Linked DNA regions of Homo sapiens: region 2 is linked to region 1. Evidence: promoter capture Hi-C in 16 types of primary human blood cells and fetal thymus (Javierre and others, 2016). All regions are on one chromosome and are shown on one strand. Each heading gives the region's core, a stretch centred on a gene start or on the middle of the fragment in contact. The rest is flanking DNA. Distances are from core to core; before and after follow the strand shown. Region 1 holds the start of ARID4A (AT-rich interaction domain 4A). Region 2 holds the start of NIN (ninein).

Evidence for each region. The method cuts DNA at HindIII sites, captures the fragments that hold promoters and counts their contacts. A CHiCAGO score of 5 or more calls a contact.
Region 2: the fragment with the promoter of NIN here is called in contact with the fragment with the promoter of ARID4A in region 1 in 1 of 17 cell types (neutrophils); the score reaches 10.6 in neutrophils.

The regions. Positions count from the first base shown.
Region 1 is chr14:58,295,904-58,303,340 of GRCh38, forward strand. ARID4A (AT-rich interaction domain 4A) reads left to right here and starts at 2,652. Exons shown (of 24, transcript NM_002892.4): 1 at 2,652-2,797; 2 at 3,895-3,957; 3 at 5,677-5,787. The coding sequence starts at 3,952. It overlaps PSMA3-AS1 (PSMA3 antisense RNA 1), which reads right to left and starts at 2,234. Exons shown (of 4, transcript NR_029435.1): 1 at 2,052-2,234. RefSeq lists enhancers at 1,882-2,605, 1,902-2,321, 2,342-2,391, 2,502-2,591 and a silencer at 3,222-3,741. The HindIII fragment of the contact is 5,118 bases long and covers 1-2,887 here.
Region 2 is chr14:50,827,226-50,834,662 of GRCh38, forward strand. NIN (ninein) reads right to left here and starts at 3,937. Exons shown (of 31, transcript NM_020921.4): 1 at 3,781-3,937; 2 at 3,239-3,292. RefSeq lists an enhancer at 2,619-2,668 and silencers at 3,239-3,358, 3,379-3,428, 3,499-3,778, 3,829-4,278. The HindIII fragment of the contact is 8,436 bases long and covers 2,676-7,437 here.

The DNA.
Region 1 (7,437 bases), core at 1,402-3,901:
TGATGTATAACATAACCACATTTATTTAACAACGTAGTCCAACATCAAATGGCAAATTCCAATAATGCAAAAACCACGATTACTTTTGCAACGACCTTCTTAGACACAATATTTTGCAAAACATGTACAAGGATATTCACTGACATATTACTGCCATTATAGAAAAATAAACACGTTACATAAATTATGATATATTTATCCCACAAAACACTATGAAGACATAAAAGATGCTTTACGATAAGATATTTCCAATATTCCCAATGTTTTCTATAAAGAATAGACGGTAATGAACAACACTAGAATATTTGGTAAAACAAAACCAACAAAAAAGACAAAGCCTTTTGTATAATATATAACTATAGTGTAAACCGTAACTACCTTTTGGAGGAGGGAAGACATTTTTGTATTCTTCTTTGGGCTTTTTAATAATTTCCAAATGTCCATGCATTATTTGGATTCAATAATAACAGTTTAAACTTTGATCGTAGAATTATGGATGCTTACCCCCTAGAAAATTCAGTAATATATTGTTTTATAAGGTCTTTTAAAAAACTGCTTCACTCCTACGAGATTGCGCCACTGCACTCCAGCCTCGATGACAGAGAGAGACTCTGTCTCCAAAAAAAAAAAAAAAAAAAAAAAAAAAGCCTCACTCCTAAACACTCCCATTTACAAGATCTTTTCTATATAAGAACTTTTTAAATAGGCGGGTGGGGGGGAGGAAATCACAAAAATACGCATAATGTTTTATAACAAAAACATGAGGTATATCAAAGTCCAGAAATGAGAACCACGTAAATGGGTAAACAAGTCCATAAGGATGTCCTAATTTTGGGATTTCATTCTAAAATATTACACTAGAAAGCTAATTATACAGACTCATTTGAATCTGACCAAACAAAACATCTTTTAACTACCCTTCCTCCCATTCTGGTATTTCTTTACTAATCCATAGAAAGTTTTTCCAGGTAGTCCCCCGCAATTCTAAGGATTTTTAGACTTTATGACTCACCTCAGTAATCACTGAGATGTTCTGTTTTCTTCAGCACAACTGCCAAAAAACCCAGTAATTGTTAAGTCACACAATCATTTTCTAGTTATGGGCGCCACCAATATAGCAGTAGGGTTTAAAACAGAGGTATTGAGGGTAACTATTAGGATCTATCCAGTGTGACTAGGTCACTCACTAGAAATGCCAACATGCATTTCACGTTTTTATGAATACTTTTGAGCAAAATTACTGTTACGAATAAAAAACTGATTCTGCTCGGCTGTTTTCTTACTGAGAAAATTTAGTCCACGTGGATTACTGACGATATGTCACATTTTAAAAATTACTCCATTCTATAAAACTAGTCAATTTTATACTCCAATTCCGCTATTTAAAAATGTGTGTTTCGTTTAACAGAATATAAGATGTTAACAGAAAAAGATCAACGTCTATCTTATCGGGGACGTCCTTTTGTCTAAGATGTTTTCAGTCCCTGCAAAACCACTGTTTGCTTTCAAAAAGTAGCATAAGCCTCGTGCAGAGTGACAGACCCTTGTCTAAGGTCACAGAAGAAGCGTCTGCGCTGGCAAGTAAATTCCTCAGCATCCAGAAAGCCAGCGCTTTCTCCAGTTTCCTCATAGCTTTATCCCGTGAGGAGCACGCGGAAACCTCTACCCATGCAGGATGTTTCTAAGAACCACTTCTTCCCTGTCTTAACTAAGAAGGCTCCCACAGCTGGTGCCAATCAGGTGGAGAACATGGCAAGTCCCCGAAATGCACTTCCAAAGACAGGAAAGATTGCAGTGGGACAGAACCCAGAAAATCTCTCACATTCTCGAAAACCCGAAAGAGAACCTCCAAGAAAGACGTTTGCCTCTCCTCCACCTCTTTATCTCGGCGGGAGAGGAAGCCTCGCCCCCATTCATCCCGCCCCTTCTCCCCACCCCGCCGCAGGGAGAAGTTTACCATGGCTGCCTGCGGCCCCTTCACTTCCGGTGCCGGTGCCGCTAGGGCTGCGCCATCCCCCCAGTCAATCGGACAACCATAGCCTCCAACTGACCTTTCTGACAGCTCTGAGACTCCTCCGGCCACGACTAGGTGCTGTCCTGGAGGAAACGGTGGAGGACGGCCGCACAAAAACCAATCTACCTGATGAAAACTCCGTTCCCTTCTCGCCAGAAACATAAAATGCGATGGAGCTACGGCCACCGCTGCCGAGACAAAATGGCGCCGACAAGCTGGTTTAGCGCAAGCGCCTTGGACAGACCCTGCCCCGCCCCCGTGCAAGCCCCTGGCTGCAATTCTGGGTTCCGTTTCCATGGGACACTCCGCCGCCAATCCTCGTGTCGAACTGCTCTTCCTGACCCCTCAATTCACCAATCAGTGCCCAGTCAAGCACATCCGGAGTCGTCTCTACCAATCATTTCTCAGGACTTGCTTACTCAATAACCAACTCTCCAATAAAGTTGGTTTTCGGAAAAAGCCAATCATAAGTGGAAGATGTCCTACCTGCTGTTTTTCTCACCAATCCATGAAGTTTCACAGCTACATCCAATGAGGACGGCAGGTAGCGAGGTCCTATCCGAAGCTCTTCGGCGTCATGAGCAGCCAATAGGAGTTCGTGTAGAAGCGAGTCTGCTCAACAGCTTGTTATTTGGTGGATTGTGGCAGTAAATCGGGGCGAGTGGGGAACCCGGCGCAGGAACTGCAGCCGCGGCTGGGAGTGGTGCTGCCCGGACGGGGGCCCACGGAGGTCAGAGGGGAGGAGGACTCTGGAGCTGACAGCGCGCACTTCACCCGCAGTTGGTAGGTGGGGAGAGGGGAATCCGGGGATACTGAATGGACGAAGTGGCAGTAGCAGCAGCTGCTGCTGCCCGAGGTCCCGGTGCAGTTGGAAGCTTTGGAGGTGGGGAGAGGGATGCTAGGCAAGTGGCACGGCGAGCGCAAGGGAAGGGGCCAGCCATTGACCAGCGGCAGCAACTGCAGGAACCGCCGCCGCAGTTGCAGCCGCCTCCTCGTCCGCTTCCTCGGGTTCCCGGGAAAATGGCTGTGGGGCTGGCCGCGCCGCTAAGTTTGCTTCCGCGCGGTGAAGAGCGGGCTGCTTGGGGGAGCCGTCCCCCAACTCCGCGGCGCGTCCACCTCTGCGGAGTCCGTGGCAGGACTCGAGGGGCTACGAGCTGATACCTCTCTGGGCTGTACAAAAAGTTGAGGCGGGCGCTGGGAGGAGGCAGCGGCTGCTGCGGTGCGGCTCCCCTCCCCTCCCACACCCTGTCCGGGCCACCTCCCCTCCTCCTCCCCTCCGCCCCCCGCCCCCTCCCCCACGCGGGTCCCCCGGGGCTCTGGCGGCTCCCGGCTGAAGGCCGCGGCCCCTGCCCCTTTGGGTGAAGGAGCGCTTCTCCTTTCTGACATGGTGCAGAGCGAAGGAAGGAGAGCAATGGCGCCGTGACACTCCGCTGCCGCCACCGCGGGCCCGGGGCGGGCCGAGGGGGCCGAGCGGCGGAGGCGGGGCGCGGGCCGAAGTCGGGGTATCCGGGGGACCGCGGAGCGGAGGCTCGGCGGTCGTCTCCGCGGGGGACCTGGGGAAGCCCGAAGGGAGCTCTGGCCTTTTCCGGAGCTATCTGTCCTGGAGCTCCGAGTTGAGCATTCCGGGTCAAAGTGGCCAGCGAGGCGGGGGCGCGGTGGGCCGCTGGCGAGCTCCGGGGCGGAACGGGCTGCCCTTTGGCGCTCGTGGGGTTCTCGCTGCCCCCTCAGCTCCTGCGTCCTGGCTGCCCTCGTAAGGGGTCTTGTCCCTTGGCTGGTGAGGATTCTGCCCCTCCCCGCTGGCGTTTGTTTACTTTCTTTCCCTTGGTCGCTCCCCGCAGTTGACTGATTATGTCTGTGCCTGTCTTTCCCCCTCCCCATAGTTCTAGCGACTGCGAAGATAGCTCGCTGAGCTGGAACCCCACAGATCACCAACAAAAATGAAGGTAAGTGGAGTCAACTCTGCCCCGATCCTCGCGCCCTGAACACTGCCAATCCTAAGGCTAGTGCCGTGGAATGTCATTTGTTTTGCTACTCAAAATTGATGTTCCTACTGATCAGCAGTTTCGGCATAGGAGGATGTGTTGAATGGGTGAAAAATGATCTGTGTGTCTAAATGCGGAGTTTAGGCCCTCTCTGTAGCAGTACTTTGGAAAGGCTGGTGCAGCCTTTCAATTGTTGTCCATTCGGATAGTATTTTTAAACACTTCCTGTGTTGGCAGCAACCTTTGCAGAAGTAAAGCTTTTGTCCTGCTTTGGTTCTTTGGGGGATTTTTTGTAAATTTTTTTTCTTCCCGTGTGCCAATGCGATTTTCTAAAAGAAAGAATACGTGGATTAAGTAATGAAGGTATCATTTCTTCTGTGTGTAAAATGAACTTATGTGGCTAAAATATTTGAAGTTGAAGTATAATAATAGTTTTAGTTAAATCTTTCCAATAAGTATTTTAAAACATATACTAAAAAGATACATATTCTACTGAGGATGACTGCAAATATCAGTATGTGGATGGTTAAAGGGAAAGGATCTCATATAGCGTTCTTGAATGCTGTGGCCATTGAATGTTTCAGGTCAGATTTTTGTTTGCCAAAAGCATTCCTATTCAATTTGTATTTTTTGTAAATGCACTTACTTTAAAAGGTACCCAATTCCTGTCTTATTTACTGTTTCAGCATATTAAGCTCTGAAATATAGCATTTTCCCAAACTTTCTCGTGGTTTTCTATTTTCTCGAAGTAAATGACATATTTAACCTTCTTTAATATTACTTGGGAAAACTTATTAGAAAACAAAAAATCATTTTCTACTTCAAAACGTATCTCCAAAGTGTACACTGTTAACTTTGCACTTAACAATGTTAAGTTGAACTTGTATGGATACACTTTAACTTCCGGAAAAAAAAAAAAAAGGTAAAATGACAGATTGAGATAGCAATCATCCTGTTACTGTAAAAATTAAAATGAGTGGTAGAGTGACATTTCTTACATCTTTCTATGTATCATTCTGGTCGTGTCCATTTGCTGAAAGTAGATGTTTCTTAGTAACGCTTATTTTTTTATACTAAGAAGATTAGTGTGGTAAACTAGGTATACCTACAAGTCTGGAGCCATCAGTTCATATCTGCATTCATCGGCTGAATTCAGACTTAAAACCTTTCAAGTGCAGCTTTTAGCAAATGAATTTTCCAAATGATACTTTCCTTATGAAAAGATGTTACCTTTATGTGGCTATGTCAATAAACAATTATGTATTGTTAGTGTTAATATTAGTAGCAATATTTCTTTTAATTTGAAAAATTTCAGGAAGCTATAAATGAATAACTTAGTTTTATGATATGTGTAATATGAAATATTTTTTCTGTTTTTTTCTTATCTTTCTGCTTATATAATAGTAGAATTTTTGAAAAATTTTGTATCGAGACAAAACATTATTAATCACTGATAATTTTGAATTACAACTTTAAAACATTTTATCATATCAGGACATCAGTCTATAAAATGAAAGGTTGCTAATCAAGTATTTAGGGTATTTTTCAAATTTTCAATGATATTAATAAGCAAGTCATTTTAATATTCTTAATGCTTCAAACACAACCTTTTAATGAGACTTGAGGTTGGAGTAGGGAGGCATAGTAATGACATTCACAGTTTTATGTTCCTTTCACCAGGCGGCAGATGAGCCTGCCTACCTGACAGTGGGAACCGATGTCAGTGCCAAGTACCGAGGTGCCTTCTGTGAGGCAAAGATTAAGACTGTGAAAAGGCTGGTGAAAGTTAAGGTAATATTTGTTTTTATGCAATAGTTTTATTAACTCTAGATTGAAGAAATTTGGGGAGAGAGAGACTGCAAATCAGCATTTTATTGAGTCATTATATGAAAACCCTTTATATACCAAACTTAAAGGAAAAGCACATCAAAAATAAAGAAATAAAAAACTCAAAAGGAGAAATTATTCCAAAATGCTACCATCAAAATACCATGCTCATGATATTTCCTGTCATTTGGCTCTTAACTATTTGTGGTAGCATACTTGGACTGTAATCTATTTTCTCCCCTCATTTAATGTTCAGGTAGAGACAATTTTAGTGTTTAGGACAATACAAATACAACAGGAATTATGTTTTCAAGACAGTGTAAAAAAGCATTTAAAAAGTTTATTTTGTGACTGGGCGTAGTGTCTCATGCCTGTAATCCAAGCACTTTGGGAGGCCGAAGTGGGCAGATCACTTGAGGCCAGGAGTTCAAGAGCAGCCTGGCCAACGTGGCGAAACCCTGTCTCTACTAAAATTGCAAAAATTAGACCCGGCGCGGTGACTCACGCCTGTAATCCCAGCACTTTGGGAGGCTGAGGTGGGTGGATCACCTGAGGTCAGGAGTTCGAGACCAGCCTGACCAACATGGTGAAATCCTGTCTCTACTAAAAATACAAAAATTAGCTGGGTGTGGTGGCAGGCACCTGTAATCCCAGCTGCTCAGGAGGCTGAGGCAGGAGAATTGCTTGAACCCGGGAGGCGGAGGTTGCAGTGAGCCAAGATCATGCCGTTGCACTCCAGCCTGGGTAACAGAGCTAGACTCCATCTCCAAAAAATAAAAAAATTAACCTGGCATGGTGGTGCACACCTGTAGTCCCAGCTACTCGGGAGGCTGAGGCAGGAGAATCGCTTGAACCCAGGAGGTGGAGATTGCAGTGAGCCGAAATCACACCACTGCACTCCAGCCTGGGTGACAGAGGGAGACTAAAAATATATATGTATATTTTTGGCTGTGTGAAGTGGCTCACACCTGCAGTCCCAGCACTTGGGAAGCCTGAATGGGGGGATTGCTTGAGCCAAGGAATTCAAGACCAGCCTGGGCAACATAGTGAGATCTTGTCTGTCCAGAAAAAAAGATAAAAAGTATTAGCCAGGTGTGGTGGCAGGCACCTGTGGTCCCAGCTACTCTGGAGGCAGAGGTGGGAGAATTGCTTGAGCCTGGGAGGTCAAGGCTGCAGTGAGCTGTGATTGTGCCACTGCACTCCAGGCCGGATGACAGGGCAAGACCCTGTCTCAAAAAAAAAATTTTTTTTTAAGATGCTTTTACTCTGAAATAACTTTTTTTTTTGGTGGTTCCTGCCAGTAATTTTCTTATATGAATATATTTTTAATAGTCTTCGTTACTTTATACTTAGATACCTCCTATGCTTATTATAAACATTTTTAACATTATAGAGGTATATCATATAGTTAATGAAGTCCTCCTTAAAAAATTTTATTTAAGTTGATGAATAATAATTTTACATATTCATGGGCTACATAGTCATGTTTTGATACATATAATGTATGGTGATTAAATCAAGATAATTTGCATATCTATCATCTCAAACATTTTTCATTTCTTTGTGTTGGGAATATTCAGTATCCTCCTCTTAGCCATTTGAAACAATGTGATA
Region 2 (7,437 bases), core at 2,687-5,186, 7.5 Mb before region 1:
ATAGAAAAAGCAGTTGCAGCCATTTACGAGTTTATATAGGAGAATACTTCCGCCAAAAACCAGTGCTGCTTAGCAGCAAACTGATTACTGTCAGAATGCCTCCTCTCTGCTCAGTGTCTCACTTCTAGCTGGATACCAAAAGCACAACAATATCACTGTGAATGAAATCATGATACAAAAATATAACACGAAAGCTTAAATGCACAGGAAGAAAGTCACATTAAATACATTTGAAAAAATGGCTGGGAGCGGGGGCTCATGCCTGTAATCATAGCACTTTGGGAGGCTGAGGCAGGTGGATCACAAGGTCAGGAGATCGGGGCCATCCTGGCTAACACGTTGAAACCCTGTCTCTACTAAAAATACAAAAAAAAAAAAAAAAATAGCTAGGTGTGGTGGCGCACACCTGTAATCCCAGCTACTCGGGAGGCTGAGGCAGAAGTGTTGCTTGAACCTGGGAGGCAGAGGTTGCAGTGTGCCGAGATCATGCCATTGCACTCCAGCCCAGGAGAGAGCGAGAGACTCCGTATCAAAAAAAAAAAAAAAAAGAAAGAAAAAGAAAAATAACAACCTTTGTCAACTACACTATAATATTTAACTAAGGGAATCCTATCAGCGTTTATTCGAAAATGTAAGCAACCTTTATTATTTTACTATCCTGAAGGATGTAATAAACCCATGCTTTTGTTCAACCTAATAACTGGTAGATTACCCAATCAAGTAGTTAACTCAGGTTAGCTACAGGAAAAAAAAAACAAAAAACAAAAAACACAACAACAAAAAAACGCCATTAGCCTGGCACAATGTGCATTCAGTAACCTGTAATCAACTACTAAGTAAATTACAGAAGCAGAAAACAGAGCTGCATGTTTGTTACAAAAAAAAAAAAAAAGGAGAAAGCTTATAACAACTTCCACTTCTTAAGCCATATTGACTCACATTAATTTAGGATGCCTGAGGCTATGAGTATGGTACCCTGAGGTGTAAGTGAAGGTGATCTTCTCTTCTCACGTCTATGAACAATATTTTCCCAACTTTGTTTTTAAAGTGAGAATTAGGGTATAGATAGATGCTTTGTAATTTTTCCATCCAAAAGCTTGAATAAATGGTTAATTGCTGACTTAAATTGCAATAAAGAAGTGTCCTAATTTCAAACAAGGATGCTCACTTTCAGAATCTCATAATCTTTTCAAAATTCTATTTTATTCATAAATAGGATAAAAATCTTTTTGCAAGCTTCACTAAGTCTCTCCATAAGCCCCTGCCCAACAGATGCAAGTTCAATAGCTAGAATTCAAACCAGATAATTTATTGGCTTACAAATGAATTGGCATCTATAAAAATAAGCCTTCTAAAAAGGCTTCACGCTGTTTAAATCCTTCTAAAATGCTCTGGCTAAGCTTGCCCACCCTTTATCAATGTAAGACTGATAAAATGCATTTTCATTATCAACATAAAATGGAAGCATCAAGATAGTTGAAATGTTAGTTTAGAAAGTCATTTGCAGTGACATTTAAAACAATTTATTTGAACATTTGACTCATGATAAGAATACTGCCTATTACATTAAGATTGGCTGTTCAGAATTCACTGGAGCCCTATTCTCCCCCTCTGTGACAGTTAACATCTTTTGATATTAAGGGTCATTACACATCTAAAATGAAAAAGAAATAAGAAAAAAGAACCCCACGCCATTCTGAGCAAGTGCCTATTAAAATGACTGATCCTTGACATTTTAATGCAGACTGTATGATGGCTTCCTCTCTATTGCCCCCTGTGAAGCCTTTCCCTGTATTGGTAATAACTTTGCCGATGTCCAACCCTGTGGAACATTCATCCTACCTTTTCCCCACTCTGCAGAATGCTTCCCTCTAAAGAATCACCAGAGAACAGGGAAAATAAACAAATCTGCAAACAAATTCCCGGGCAGTTCACATCACCTCCCAAAGGACACTGACAATAGCTGAAGAGACCACAACACACAAACTCGTTTTTCAGCCAGCCTGTAATGTTCCTCCTATACACACTCTGGAAATCCTCAGCTCCCTTCAACTCCGGAGCAAGAGCCACCAATATTCCAGGTCAGCCACCTATATAATATGCTCACCACGAGAGAAGACTCAAGGTAAAATTAAACTGACAGAAAAAAGGAATTTTCCTTGTTAGATCATCAAGCCTCCGGAATCATGCAAACATGTGTGTATGTTATGGTGTTTACGGGGACCTAACTGAGAAACGTCGTGGTTCCAGGGGCTTCCCTCATGTGTCAGGATGGACTTTATCAGGATTCTCATCCTACAAAGCTACCATGTCAGTCACAAAAGACAACTACGCAATCTGTTTCGATGTAATAAATTCAGGAGTTGAGCTGTATGGCAAGCCCATCTTAGAAGTCCTCAACACCAGGAGAGGATCTGTCCTAGTTAGGAGCAGAAAGCAGATCTCATAATATCCAAGTTGTCTGGAAACATGATATATGGTAGGGCAGTCTTTCCAGCTCCCATTTTGTTGGTGCCTTCACCTCGGGTTGTCAGGGCTGGGGTTAGGGAAATTGCCTCTTTCCGTCTCTATCTCTTTTAACTTCGCAGCGAGAGCTGGAAGCAGTGACTGTTCCCATCACCTAGTGTCCTTCTGTCAGGGGCCGCTTCGGTAGCTACAGAAGCCTAGCCGCTGGAAGCTTCCTTCCCCGACACTCCATACCTCCATGCCACACCTTTTAGGCAATAACCAAATGTCATTTTGTTCTTTCCCCTTCTCCTGGGCATTATACTGGGAAACTGTTTACGCGCATCGACCCCGCACACCTCCAAAAATCTCCACTTTCCGGGCTCCAAGCAGCTCTCCGCTACTCAGACAGCCCAGGCTAACACCTCGGATTTCCCCATGCAGTTTCCTCTGCAGCGTCTCAATCACAAGGCTGTACGGGCGGCACATGCCAACGGAACCACCACCCCTTCTGCTCCCTCGGGGACTCAAGCCTGCTCTCGGTCAAAGCACAGAAGCGGCTTTCAGCTCCGGGCAGGCGGCCGGGGCGTCGGGGGTACTGGAAGTGCCCAAACCCAGCGGTGCTGCCGCGCGGGGAAGCGGAGGTGCGGCCGCAGGACAAGCGCGCCTCCCAAGTCCCTGGCCACCTGCGATGCGTCCTCAACTCGCCTGCCCATCGCCACTACCAGAAACCTCAGACAGCCCATTGTGTGGGCAGGCAGCGCGCTCCCCCGGCCCCGCCGCCCTCGCCTACCTTCTGTCGGTCTCTCCGGAGCGCCCGCACAGCCGGCAGCCCGCCTCCAGCGCTCTGCAAAGCGAAGGAGGACGCTTTGTTAGGGCTGGAGAAACGGGACAATACTTCGCAGCCGGCGCAGCGGTTCCGGGCGGGCGTCCTTCAAAAGGACGCGAATGGGGACCCGCGTGAGCGTCATTTCCATATGTAAGGGGCCAGCTCTTACAAAAGCGCGGCTCTCGGGGGCCGCGGGCTGCAGCGCGCATCCTCCCCGCCCCCGCCGGCCCGCCCCCGCCCGCGCAGCCCGCGCCTCCGGGACCGGCCCCTCCTCCCGCCTCCGAAGCAGCCCCGTCCCCGCCTCGTCCTCCCGCCCGGCCGCTGCTTCCTCCCGGCCCGCAGGGATTGCGCCCCGCTGGCCCCGGACCCCAAATGGGAAGCCCCCGAGTGATCCGGTGCCCAGTTCGCTCCGGGCTCTCAGGGCCTCGCCGACGGCGCGGGGGCAGCGCGAGGCCTCCGTGCACCCCCAGGCCGTGGGTCCGGGTCCCCGGGGTTGCGCCACTTACTGCGTCCCGGGGCTCAGGCGCCCGGCGCCGCCGCGGGAACCATGGCCGCTGGCGCACTCCGGGCTTGGCGGCGGCAGCGGGACGGCCGCGCCCAGCGCGCTCGGCTCCCGGCTCGGCCGCGGCCACCCGGAGCTCTGGACGCCGGGGAGGAAGGGCCGGGCCCGCGCGGGGAGGAGGAGTCAGGGCGACGCCGGCCCCGGCGCGGCTCCTCCTCTGCGGCCCGCGCGGCTCAGGCAGCGGAGGGAGGAGCGGGCGGCGCCGCCTGAGCCCTCGCAGACGCGCCCTCCCGCTCCGAGCGCCCGCCTCCGAGATCTGAAGTTAGAAACGCCGGGGCTCCGGGTGCGGGTGTAGGAGGCTGGCGCCCCGAGGTCGCCACCGAGCTGGGGCTGGCGCTGCCACCCTCGCCCCTTGCCTGTCCGCCTCCCTTTCTTTCCCAACACGCCTACACTCACCCGCACCGCGGACACTCGGGCCGCAGCGTCTTCGCGCAGAGGAAGGGCCCCCGCCTTCAGCAAGCGGGACTTTAAGGGGGTGATTTCCCAGCCCTCGGGTGTCGATTGGCCATCAACATTGGAAAGGGTGTTCAGGAGGCAGAAGGGCTGTAGAAGTGACTCGGAACCCTGTAGAGCGAGCGCGACCCTCCTGCCGGGTCTACACTGGCTTCCGCACCTGCCCACCACGTCCTCACAGGCTCCCGCCCCTGTGCAGCCTTCTCCGGGTGAAGCTAACCCTCGGTCGCAAGCCACACAGGACGAAAACTCCTTGGAGTTGGTGGTTCCCAGCCCAACAGTTGCTCGATATTAATCGCCTCCTACCTACTACCCCAGAGTCTGCGTTCTCACTCCCCCATCCCTACACTTCTGATCTCATTGCAGTCAAATAGGATCCCAAGTCCAGGCCATGGTTCTTTTTGAGCTGCAGGGTTAAATGTGTTGCCCTTGAAGGATCCGCCTGATGGATTACAACCCACAAGTCTGGTTATTTTAGCAGGAAACTGGTGATTCCTTTTCTACCGAGAAAGCAAGCAACAGACAAGAGGAAACCAGCATTCCTTGAGAATCCAGTGCGCTAGAAACTCGACAGAAATTATCTTATCTAATTCTCACATCACTCTTAGGAGGCAGACATTATTTTGCAGATGAGGAAAATGGATCTCCCAGAAGTCAAAGAGCTTCCTCAGGATCACACAGCAGGAACTCCACAGAACTGAGATTCAAAAGCAGATCACATATGTGGCAAAATTGCATAGAACTGAATATACACTCACAAATGAGAGCACGTGAAACTCATGAAATTTGAATAAGACATTTGGACTACACTAATGTCCATTTACTGATTGTAATATTGTTCTACAGTTATGCAAAATGTTACCATTGAGAAAAATTAAGTGAAGCGTCTATAGGGAATCTCTCTATTATTCCTTACAACTTCAAGCGAATTTACAGTTACCTCAAAAAATTTTTTTAAAAATTTTAAACATCTCAGTCTTATTCAAAAGCCCAGGCTCTCTTCTTTCAACACGGTATATAAGCGTGCCTGCAGAATAAGAGAGATTTATGCTCCTCTCTCCTTTTTAAACAGTCTTGAATAAGTACACATACACACACAAACACACACTCATACACTGTATGCATGGTTGTTCAGTCATCCAGTAATATGATACAACACACACACACACACACGCAGTTCATTAAGAGGATAGCTAACCTGTTACCAGAATACTTACATAGAGGTCATCTTGTAAGACAGACAATAATGCTCACTGGGCACTAAAACAGCCAACAGTCTTGGAAGGTAAGAATGAAGAGGTGTCTTTCTTGTTTCACCTAATCTCTGCCATGGAAGCCTCATCCTACTGGTTACCTCTCCAAGCATCGCTTTTTAACCTGCAAGAATCCTTAAGGATGATATTGATCATTAGTTTAAAACAGTGATTCCTGGGGGTCAGGGGATATTGGAAGTGGCATTCACTCCCTGTGCAGGAAGATCAGAATTGCTGGGGGTTGTGTAATTTGAAAAACACAAGATGCGCTTTCTTGAGAGGAGTAAGTGGGGTGGAGTTAGCCCTGGGACTGGGAACTGGGATCACCTCCAGCCTTGCTACAAAGGAGGGAAAGCATGGAGCATGGTTACCGCGTGGTGTGGGTTGGCAAGAGCAACTCTACCAAGAAAGATGATTTATTTAACACAATGGGCCTGCAGTTTGGTTTGCACTGAGCACATGGTTAGTCTTAGTCCAAACTGGAGTCATGGGAAAAAAAAGCAGAGACTTCCTTTAGAGCCCATTACTTGATCTTTTCTCTGTTAAACACAAAATAACAGCAGAAGTAGCAACCAGGCTCCAGTTCTACATTATAACCAATATAAGAGAGAAAAGAAGAAATGTAAATATTTATTCAGAGTTATCACCCTTTACAAACAAAACTTCACTCTTATCTGTTGCAGCTTATCTGACTCTGATTTTTACTCTCACTTTACAAAGAACCTTGTTCAAGGACCTAGGATCCTTGAAGTATTTGTACGTGAAGTTTTTGAAGGGTTTTCTGCCATATTTCACAGTACGGAACTGGCTTTCTCAGATGGTTAAAGCTCTAAAACGTTAACTAAAGAATAATCCAGGGAAGAGAAAGTTACTCTTTGTTTCTTTTCTTTCTTTTTATTTATTTATTTATTTATTTTTTGAGATGGAGTCTTACTGTGTCGCCCAGGCTGGAGTGCAGTGGTGCAATCTTGTCTCACTGAAACCTCCACCTCCTGGCCTCCTGCGTTCAAGCGATTCTTCTGACTCATCCTCCCAAGTAGCTGGGATTACAGATGTGCACAACCACATCTGGCTAATTTTTGAATTTTTAGTAGAGACAAGGTTTCACCATGTTGGTCAAGCTGGTCTTGAATTCCTGACCTCAAGTGATCCTGCCTCGGCCTCCCAAAGTGCTGGGATTACAGGCGTGAGCCACCACGCCTGGCCTACTCTTTGTTTCTTCTTGAAGTAATTTTGAAATTATCAGTTTAGAGTCAAGACGACAAATGAGAGAGAGAGAGAAAAAGAGAGAGAAAAAGTCAGGCTTTGTAAATTTCCTGGAACCTGAAAAGTTATTTTTTTTTTTCTTAGCCAAAAAAAGGCTCTAACCAAACATAGTCTACCCTCTCCCAACTCACAGTTGGGTATAAACTATTTTTTATTCACAGAATAGTCAAACAGCCTGTCACTCATGTAGCAACTCCTGGCTCCTTCTAAACTTCTTTAATCGATATCTTTCTTATTTCTGTGACCATTTGAACTCAGCAGGACAGTTTTCAGGCAAGTTGCAGAGCTGTGTCAAAGACAGCCAGATTGTTAAAGTAGATGATCAGTTATAGTTTGGCCCAGGAACTCACTCGGTGAAAGAAAGGGACATCAATGATCTCCCCAAGGCCCTAAGGAAAATGAATGAGGAAAGGAAAAAGGGAGAAATTTGAGTTCCAGACATACAAGTCAGGGACTTAAGAGTTCCAGCAGCAAAATGTTGGTGGTTAAGAACCCAGGAAGAAAGAGGAAAAGTATAGGAAAGGGAAGGGAAGGTGACAGAAGGCAAACTGATTTACACTTTTGCCCCTGGGGGACACCTATTAGAAATTAGGATTCTCTATTCATTTTCCTTATGAAGAAAATGAAAG